2 separate regions of the Homo sapiens genome follow, and region 1 is linked to region 2. Evidence: promoter capture Hi-C in 16 types of primary human blood cells and fetal thymus (Javierre and others, 2016). All regions are on one chromosome and are shown on one strand. Each heading gives the region's core, a stretch centred on a gene start or on the middle of the fragment in contact. The rest is flanking DNA. Distances are from core to core; before and after follow the strand shown.

Evidence for each region. The method cuts DNA at HindIII sites, captures the fragments that hold promoters and counts their contacts. A CHiCAGO score of 5 or more calls a contact.
Region 1: a fragment that was not itself captured here is called in contact with the fragment with the promoter of ELFN2 in region 2 in 1 of 17 cell types (total CD8 T cells); the score reaches 7.2 in total CD8 T cells.

The regions. Positions count from the first base shown.
Region 1 is chr22:37,030,230-37,034,489 of GRCh38, reverse strand. LOC112268295 (a long non-coding RNA gene) reads right to left here and starts at 2,441. Exons shown (of 2, transcript XR_002958751.1): 1 at 1,164-2,441. RefSeq lists enhancers at 411-1,076, 1,169-1,686. The HindIII fragment of the contact is 987 bases long and covers 2,211-3,197 here.
Region 2 is chr22:37,425,427-37,429,107 of GRCh38, reverse strand. It overlaps ELFN2 (extracellular leucine rich repeat and fibronectin type III domain containing 2), which reads left to right and starts at 1,629. Exons shown (of 3, transcript NM_052906.5): 1 at 1,629-1,810. The HindIII fragment of the contact is 18,273 bases long and covers 1-3,681 here.

The DNA.
Region 1 (4,260 bases), core at 1,455-3,954, 400 kb after region 2:
AGTGCTATGTATGAACCAAATCACTTCATCCTCACAGCAATCCTATAAAGTGGATTATTGCCACGTCTCAGATGAGGAAATCCAGGCCCCTCTGCCCACACTCACGGCCAGGGAGTTGGAGGTCAGGGTGCTCCGGAGGCTGCCCTTTGAACCGTCCCCTGCTGCAGCTCTCCCTGGAGCAAGAGGGCACAGTCCAGGGAATTCATAAAAGGGACTATGCGTGGGTGTGGAGGTGCCTCTCAGACCCAGAACCAGCCCCCCAACCCATGGCGGTTCTCTGTGTTTCCACTTCTCAGATACTCCTCGCCACGCTGTTGCCAGGATCCATGTCTGTCCCTCCCCATGGGGCGAATGCCCCCTCTCAGGGCTGGTCTTTATCCTCCATGCCCCCAGATCCTGCCACAGGGCCTGTCCCTAGGAAGTACCCTGGAATGAATGGAGGAGACAGGCTGAGTGCTGGGTGCGGGCTGAGTGGGGGACTTGGACAAAGGCAATGGGAGTAGAGGTGGAGGTCTGACCGGCTGTAGGTAAGTGGGACAGAGTCTCAGATCACTTGCTGCCAGGTGTGGGCCTGGGTGACCCACAAGTGGTGACCGTGCACACTGAGACAGGGGACACAGGTGGAGGAGCAGGCTTGGGGCTGGGAGGCCATGACTCAGGGATCTGAGTTCAGGAGGAATCGAGTTGCGGGAGGCCCCGATTCCAGAGTCACTGGCTCAGCACAGTCGTTGAAACCATCCGAATGGCAGCATTATCTAGAGAGCGGGCCCGCCTCGAAGCAGGCCGAGGGAGACTCCAGAGAACACAGACGGGAAACCAGAAGGGCAGTCAGCTAGGATTCAGTATCGAGGACCTGAAGACCTCAACATCCTGACAGTTGAGGGGCAAGGAGCCCCTGCAGGTATCGCTGTGCAATCAAGGGATCAAACAAAGCCCCCAGAAGTTCAGGCAAGATCAGCCTACCAAGTTCCACCCCTAGTAGGTTAATAGGCAAAAAATTTAGGTGCTTAAAATAACACTTTCCGTTAACCTGAATATTTCAACATTTCATCTTCCCCCAAGTGATTCATCCTCCATGAGTTAAGGATAATAAAGCTCCATTGTGCTTATAGAGCTGAGGTTATTCCAGTAGGTGTGACACCTGACTTCATTTTGAGCCTTACCTGATGTGACATCACACCCACACTGGGCATGGCAGAACTGAGTTTGCTCCCATTTTTCAGATGAGAAGACTGAGGCCCCAACAGGAAGGCTCTGGAACGCAGACCTTCTGGGGCCTTGTGCAAAGCTGATTCCACAGCACCAGGACCAGATCGCTGCATGGATCCATATTCAGCCCACTGTGTGGATGGGGGCTTTGATCTCTGGAGGCAATGACCCAGGAAGTGGAAAACATTCCAGGGCAGCTGGTTAGGCAAGGTTGGGAAACGCATTTCCAACTGTTCCTGACACAGAGGGGGCGCCGAGCAAATATTTGCCAAGTGGATAAAAATTTCATCATTCTTGTTGCTCAGTGTTGCAAGTTCCTGCCTCGAACACACAGGTTGGGTAGGGCGGGCCCTGGCAGAGGCCAGGATCCTGCAGTCAGTGGTTAATTATTCTAAGAGTTCAGGCTTGCAGGAGGCGGGACGGAGCTGGGCGGAGGGTGCGTGTCTAGTTCATTCCTAACAAACTCCTGCAAAGTTAAACTGAAGCTCTGTAGTCCTAGAAAGGTGCGGCTAGATCGCCCACCTCTAGGCAGGTCACCTCCGAGCCTGTCCAGACCCAAGGAGGACCTTCCCAGGAGAAAAAAGCCCGGGCTGGAATCAGCCTTGGTTTCCTTGCTGCAGGTTGGACTAGGGTAGGGGAAGGGCGCCTAACCCAAACCCATTGGTTAAATTCCACTGCTCAAGGTTTCCCTGTGGAGCTGAGAAACACGTGGCCATCTTCCCTGAGCTTCTCATGCGTTTCTGTTCTCACCTTGATCCTGGAATCTGGAAAACCATGGCAGGCAAGATCCGCTGGAGAAACTCCTCCCCTGGAGAATTCTAACTCCAGTTAGGTTCCTCTAGCAAACTAGCTGTGTGCCCTGAGGCAAATCACTGAACCTCTCTGAGCTTGTTTTCCCACCTGTAAAATTAGTCTGTTGTGAAATAGATCATTTCACAGCACCCCCTTCTCTCTGGAAATGTACTCTAAAAGACTAGTTTCTCCTCCCTAGTTTGGAAGCTTTGAGAGGGCTGGGACACAATTCTATTTGTCACTCTCTCTCCTCCAATGCCGGAAGTGCAGAAGGCACTTAACATGCTGAATAAGTAAAACTCCTTTAAAACTAATGGGAAGAAACCCTTGGTGTTTACTCTGCACCAAGCAAAACAGTTTCTGTGGATTATCTCATGTAATCCTCATACTGCTCAGGAAGGTACTTCTTTTTTTGAGATACGATCTTGCTCTGTTTCCCAGGCTGGAGTGCGGTGGTGTCATCACAGCTCACTGCAGCCTTGACCTCCCAGGCTCAAGCGATCTTTGCACTTCAGCCTCCCAAGTAGCTGTGACTACAGGCACATGCCACTCTGCCCGGCTCATCTTTTTTCTTATTTTTGCCTACAGATGAGGTCTCACTATGTTGTCCAGGCTGGTCTTGAACTCCTGAGTTCAAGTGATCCTCCCACCTATGCCTCCCAAAGTGTTGAGGTTACAGGCGTGAGCCACCGTGCTGGCCAGGAAGGTACTATTTTGCCCGTTTTACAGGTGAAGAAACGGGTCTGGGCGCTGTGGCTCACGCCTGTAATCCCAACACTTTGGGAGGCCGAGGAAGGTGGATCACGAGGGCAGGAGTTTGAGACCAGCCTGGCCAACATGGTGAAACCCTGTCTCTACTAAAAATACAAAAATTAGCCGGGCGTGATGGTGAGTGCCTGTAATCCCAGCTACTCAGGAGGCTGAGGTAGGAGAATCGCTTGAACCCGCGAGGCAGAGGTTTCAGGGAGCCGAGATCGTGCCATTGCACTCCAGCCCGCGCAACAGAGCAAGACTCTTATCTCGGGGTGGGGGGGAAAAAAGAAACGGAAGCCTGCAGAGGCTGGGCAGCATGTTCGAGGTCAGGCTGCCTTGTGTGGAGTGGTTGGGACTGGAAGCTGGATCAGAACCTCACATGTTTGCAGACAAACTTGTCTCCTCAAAGTGGCAGAGCCATTCCAGGAAGGAAAACTAAAGCTTGTCTGAGACCGGCCAGAAAGGGGGGAGTGTCTAAACTGCCTCACTTCCACTTCTGGGAGAAGGTGCTTATGATGGGGAGTCGGGGAGCCCCTCCATGTTGGGGTTCCCTGTCTACACTGTTCCTGACTGCAGTGGTCAATTGTGTTATTTGCCCCTAGGGCAGTGGTTCTTGACTGGGGGTGATTTTTGCCCCCCAGGGGACATCCGGCCACATCTGGAGACTTTCAGTTGTCATAACTGGGCAGTGTTACTGGCATCTAGTGGGCAGAGGCCAGAAACGCGGCCAAGCATCCCCCAGCACACAGGACGGCCCCCATGACAAGGAATCATTCAGTGTAAATGTCAGCAGCACTGAGGCTGAGAACCCCCGGTGTGGAAAACGGGGACTCTGCAGTGGACTCTTGGAAGGGCTCTCATCTGAGTTTCTTCTTCGGAAGTACACGATTCCCATGTTTTAGGGGAGGAAACTGAGGCTCCGAGAGGTTGGGAGTTACTTTAGAGCTCTTACTTGGAAAACCAAGATTCTAGGCTGTGTCGATTTCTCCCGTCCCTGCGGACTTGGGAAATGACTCAGCATCAGGGGGAAGTTGAGGGGATACAGTCAGGTGAAAAGAGGAATAAACTGAGTCAGGGAATCTGGATCTGGCCCTGGCTCTTCATAAATTCAGTGTGGCCTTGGTAAGTCACTGCCCCTCTCTGGTCTCGTTTCCAAAGGAAGGGCCAATAAGATAACTTCGAGCTCTCCCCAGTACCGCCTGGCAGGACACTGCCCCTGCGCTGCTGAGATGGTGCCTGAGGGCTGGAAAGACGGGGAGGGGCAATCCAGGTCGTGATGGGCAGGGGGGAGTTTGGGGCCTTCTCAGACACCTACGTCCACCTCTGCACAAAGGATAAATCCCGGGCAAGGAGGATGGAACCCCTACCCTTGGGAAATGGGGAGAGATGTTCTCTTTGAGCAGAAAGAATCAAACTCCCTGGGTCCACCCACTCCGGGAATTCCACAGACCAGCCCCCAAGTGTGAGCTTCCAGAGTTTAGAGCCAGGTTCTCCTCCAATTCAGCT
Region 2 (3,681 bases), core at 380-2,879:
GCTTCTTGCCCAGCCTTGTCAGGGATACACACCATGTGTTGGATACCGCCCCTGCCCTGTAGGAGGGCTCAGTTTAGAGGGCAGAGACAGCACATGGCTTGTTTGGGTTTGCAGCGAGGGACCTTGAAGGATGGGTAGGAGTGTGCCAGGCAGCCTGGGGTGCAGGTGGGGAACGCCCAATAGTCCTTCTGCATACCCCAGGACAACAAGTGGCCTGTGACCCAGTGCTTGTCTGCCCTCCCAGCCCCATCCTGGGCCGTTCCCTGTTCTTAGTTGAAAGGAGGGAGGAATTTCTGGACAGACGTTCTTTCTGCTCTACTAATACCCAACTCCGTGGAGTTCCCTGTACACACATACAAAGCTGTTTCATGCCTCTGTGCCTCTTTGCACATGCTGTTCCCAGAGTCCAGGACACCCTTCTCCTCCTTCTTTAGCTGGCCAACTCCTACTCATCCATCAAGATTCAGCTCAGGCAGTGGCTTCTTCTGGGGAGTCTCCTTATTCCAGACCTGCATGAGATGTCCCGACGGGGAGTTCCCGCAGCCTGGACTTCATCTGCTGTGCAACACCTGAGAACAGGCGCTGGTGCATGCGGTCCTATAAAAGTGATGGAGAAGTACAGGGCCTGCTGGCAGCAGGCCTCCGACATGCAGCTCGCAGGGCCTCGGGAGGAGGTGCTTGCATGCCCAAGCACCAAGTTATAGGCCCCGGGTGCCAGGCTTCTTGCATCTTCCACCTCCTCCTCCTCCTCCCAGCATCCACCCCTTTGCAGGTGGCAGCAGGTGGCAGGGGCTTTGGCGTAAGGGGCGGGGAACTGGGCCTCTGGAAGGCTAATGAAGGTTCTCTAGCTACAGATGAGCCCAGTATCCCTTGGACCTACTCCTGGAGGGGTGGGGAAAGGCAGTGAGTGCCCTGGCACAAGGTAGGGGAGCGTAAAGTCTAATACTGTCTGTAGGCTCCCTGTGTAACCTTGGGGGAATCACTCCTCTCCGAACCTCAGTTGTCTGGCCTGTAAAATGGGAACGCAGCAGCCGCACTTCCCCAGTCGCCAGCGGTTGAACGCGGGACCAACCAGCAGGGCGCAGGCGGCAGGGCATGGAGGTACAAGGCGGAGAGGGGGCCCATCAGCGGAGGCGGAGTCCAGGGGGAGGGCGAGTCCAGGCGCACTTCGGGCGGCCCCGCCGCAAGTTTGCCCCCAGCTGTTGAATGCGCTGGCGGAGGCCGGACCCGGACCCGGACCCGGATCCCGCGGGGTGAGCAGCGCAGGGGGCCGCGGCCGGGACAGGGGTCCGCCAGGCCGGGGCTCGGGTCCGTGGGGCCGCCTTCGCCTCCCCGGGCGCTGCAGCTGCAGCGGCGGCGCCAGGCGCGGCCCCAGCCCCGCGGGCGTGTGTCTGCGAGCGCGCGTGTGTCCGTGGAGCGTGCGGCCGGCTCGGGGGCGGGAGCGGGCTTGCTGCGGAAAGGCCTGCGGAGGGCACCGGGAGCGGGCGGGCTGGCGGACGGACAGACGGGGACGGACAGACGGACACAGCCTGCCGCGGTCCCTGACGCGCGCCGCTTGGCCCCTCCCGGGCGCCCTCCCCGCCGAGGCAGGGGCAGAGGCGCGGCGGCGGGGAGGAGGGGGCGGCGGCGTCTGCGCGCACACGCGCGCTCCCAGACACACACACAGACACACGCGGGCCACCCCACGGCCACGCACCCCGCACCCACACCCGCGCTCACACTCACATTCACACTCACACTCACACGCGCAGGCCCCGCGGCCGCCGCTTCCCGGAGGCGGTGCTTGGCCCGGATCCCGGCTGGGGCTGGGGTAAGTGAATTCCTCTGGATCCGAGCGCCGCGACCGACCGACCGGGGAGACGGTGGGAGTCGGGGCTGGAGCCGGAGGGCACCCCCTCCGTCAGTGGGGGTGGGGCTTGGAGAGGGACACGGAAGGGGGGATGAGACGGGGAGAGCCACCCCCAGTGTCTCCTGGGTCTGGGGATCCCCGTGAGACCCCCGGGGGACCACCCTGCGCGAGGGAGGTGGTGGTGGTGGCGGTGGGCGGAGGCGGTGGGAGGACACCGAGGACGGTCGGTGAGGTGAGCGTTTCTGGGGGTGGTGCAGAGGCTCGATGGTGGACGGTGTGCCAGCCGGTGCCACACTGCACCTCTCTGCCCTCATCTTTTCGAATCGGGGGCCCTAACCCCTCTCTTTCACGGGGTGCTGCCGGGTCAAGGCATTCATCCTCTAGCTGGTAAGAGGGGTTGACGGGGTGGATGCCTTCTAGGGGAAGGGGGGCCAGGGTGGGGCTTGACGGCGGTGGGGTTGGTAAGACCAGAATTGGGGGGTGGGGACCCTTTCAGAGGCGCTGGCCAGGGACAAGGAGGGAGGCAGCCCAGGGAGGCGGCATAAATCGCAGACACTGCAGCTCTGGCAGGGCCGGGGCCACTGCCGGGTGTGTGTGTGTGTGTGTGTTTGTGTGTGTGTGCGAGCGCGTGCCAGTGTGTGTGTGTGCGTGCGTGTGTGGGCTCCAGCAGCTGTCAGGGGACGGGGAGGGGGTGGGTGTGTTGGCTGGTGGGGCGCCGTGTGCATGTGGAGAGGATTGTGCGTGCTGTGTGTGTGTGGTGTGTGCGTGTGTGTGTGGACATGGGGTGGACCCTGCTCTCTGTCTGTATACACACAAGCGCACACACGCACACTGTCAGTGGCCTGGCAGGATTTCCTCGGAATGTTTGGAGGGAAGGGAGCTGATGTGTGTGTGTGTGTGTGCGCGCGCGCGCGTGTGCATGCACACTCGGGGAGCTTGTGTCCAAAACAGAGGCCACAGGCCATGGTGTGTCAGGCGTGCCCAAGGAGGGAGACGAGAAGGGGACAGTGGTGCTGACCGTGCACTCAGCTGGGGAGGAACGTGGTACTCGGCACTTTCTGCAGCTCAGGGCTCTGTGCTGTGCCCCTTCCCCCTGGACTCCTCCCACCCAGCAGCTGCGGCTGGAGGGCACTGCCTTGGTCCCTTGCTGAGACGCAGGTGTTGGGCTGGAGTGTGTGTGTGTGTCTGGGCTGCGGCTGTCGCTATCAGCAGGCCAGGCTGTCGGAGTCAGAAAGCTGGAGGGAGTGGGGTGCTGGCAGCACCTGGAGGAATGTGGTGGAAGCTGTGGGGCGCGGACTGCCCGGCGCGGTTACCGAGAGGCGTTTTAATATGCAAGTTGCATCATGAGATGGGACTGGGAGTGTGTGTGTGTGTGTGTGTGTGTGTGTATGTGTATGTGCATGGCTGACACCCCTGTTCTCGTGGCCCGTGGACACCTGTGGGACGTGTCACGTCTGGGCCATCAGCAAAGCATGTGGGCATGTGTGTCCCCTGAGAGGGGTGCACAGGCAGGTGCTGTCCTGATGAGCCGGGGGCCCTGCAACTGTGTGGGTGGGGAGGTGGGTACCTCTGGGCCATCAACGCCTAGGCAGGAAGAAAGAGTGTTAATTGTGGGGACATCAGGAAAAAGTATGTATGTGAGGTCAGTGAGAACCTCAGGTGTGACATAAGCTCCAGGCCGCAGGTGACGTCACTGGGACAGTTTTGTCGGAGGTTGCTCCCCCCAGCCAGAGTGTGTAAATGTGATGTCACGGGAGTGTGTGTGGCCGAGTGTGGTTATGTCTCTTGTATATGAGGGGTGGGAAGGGGAGAGGGATGGAGCCTTAGGACGC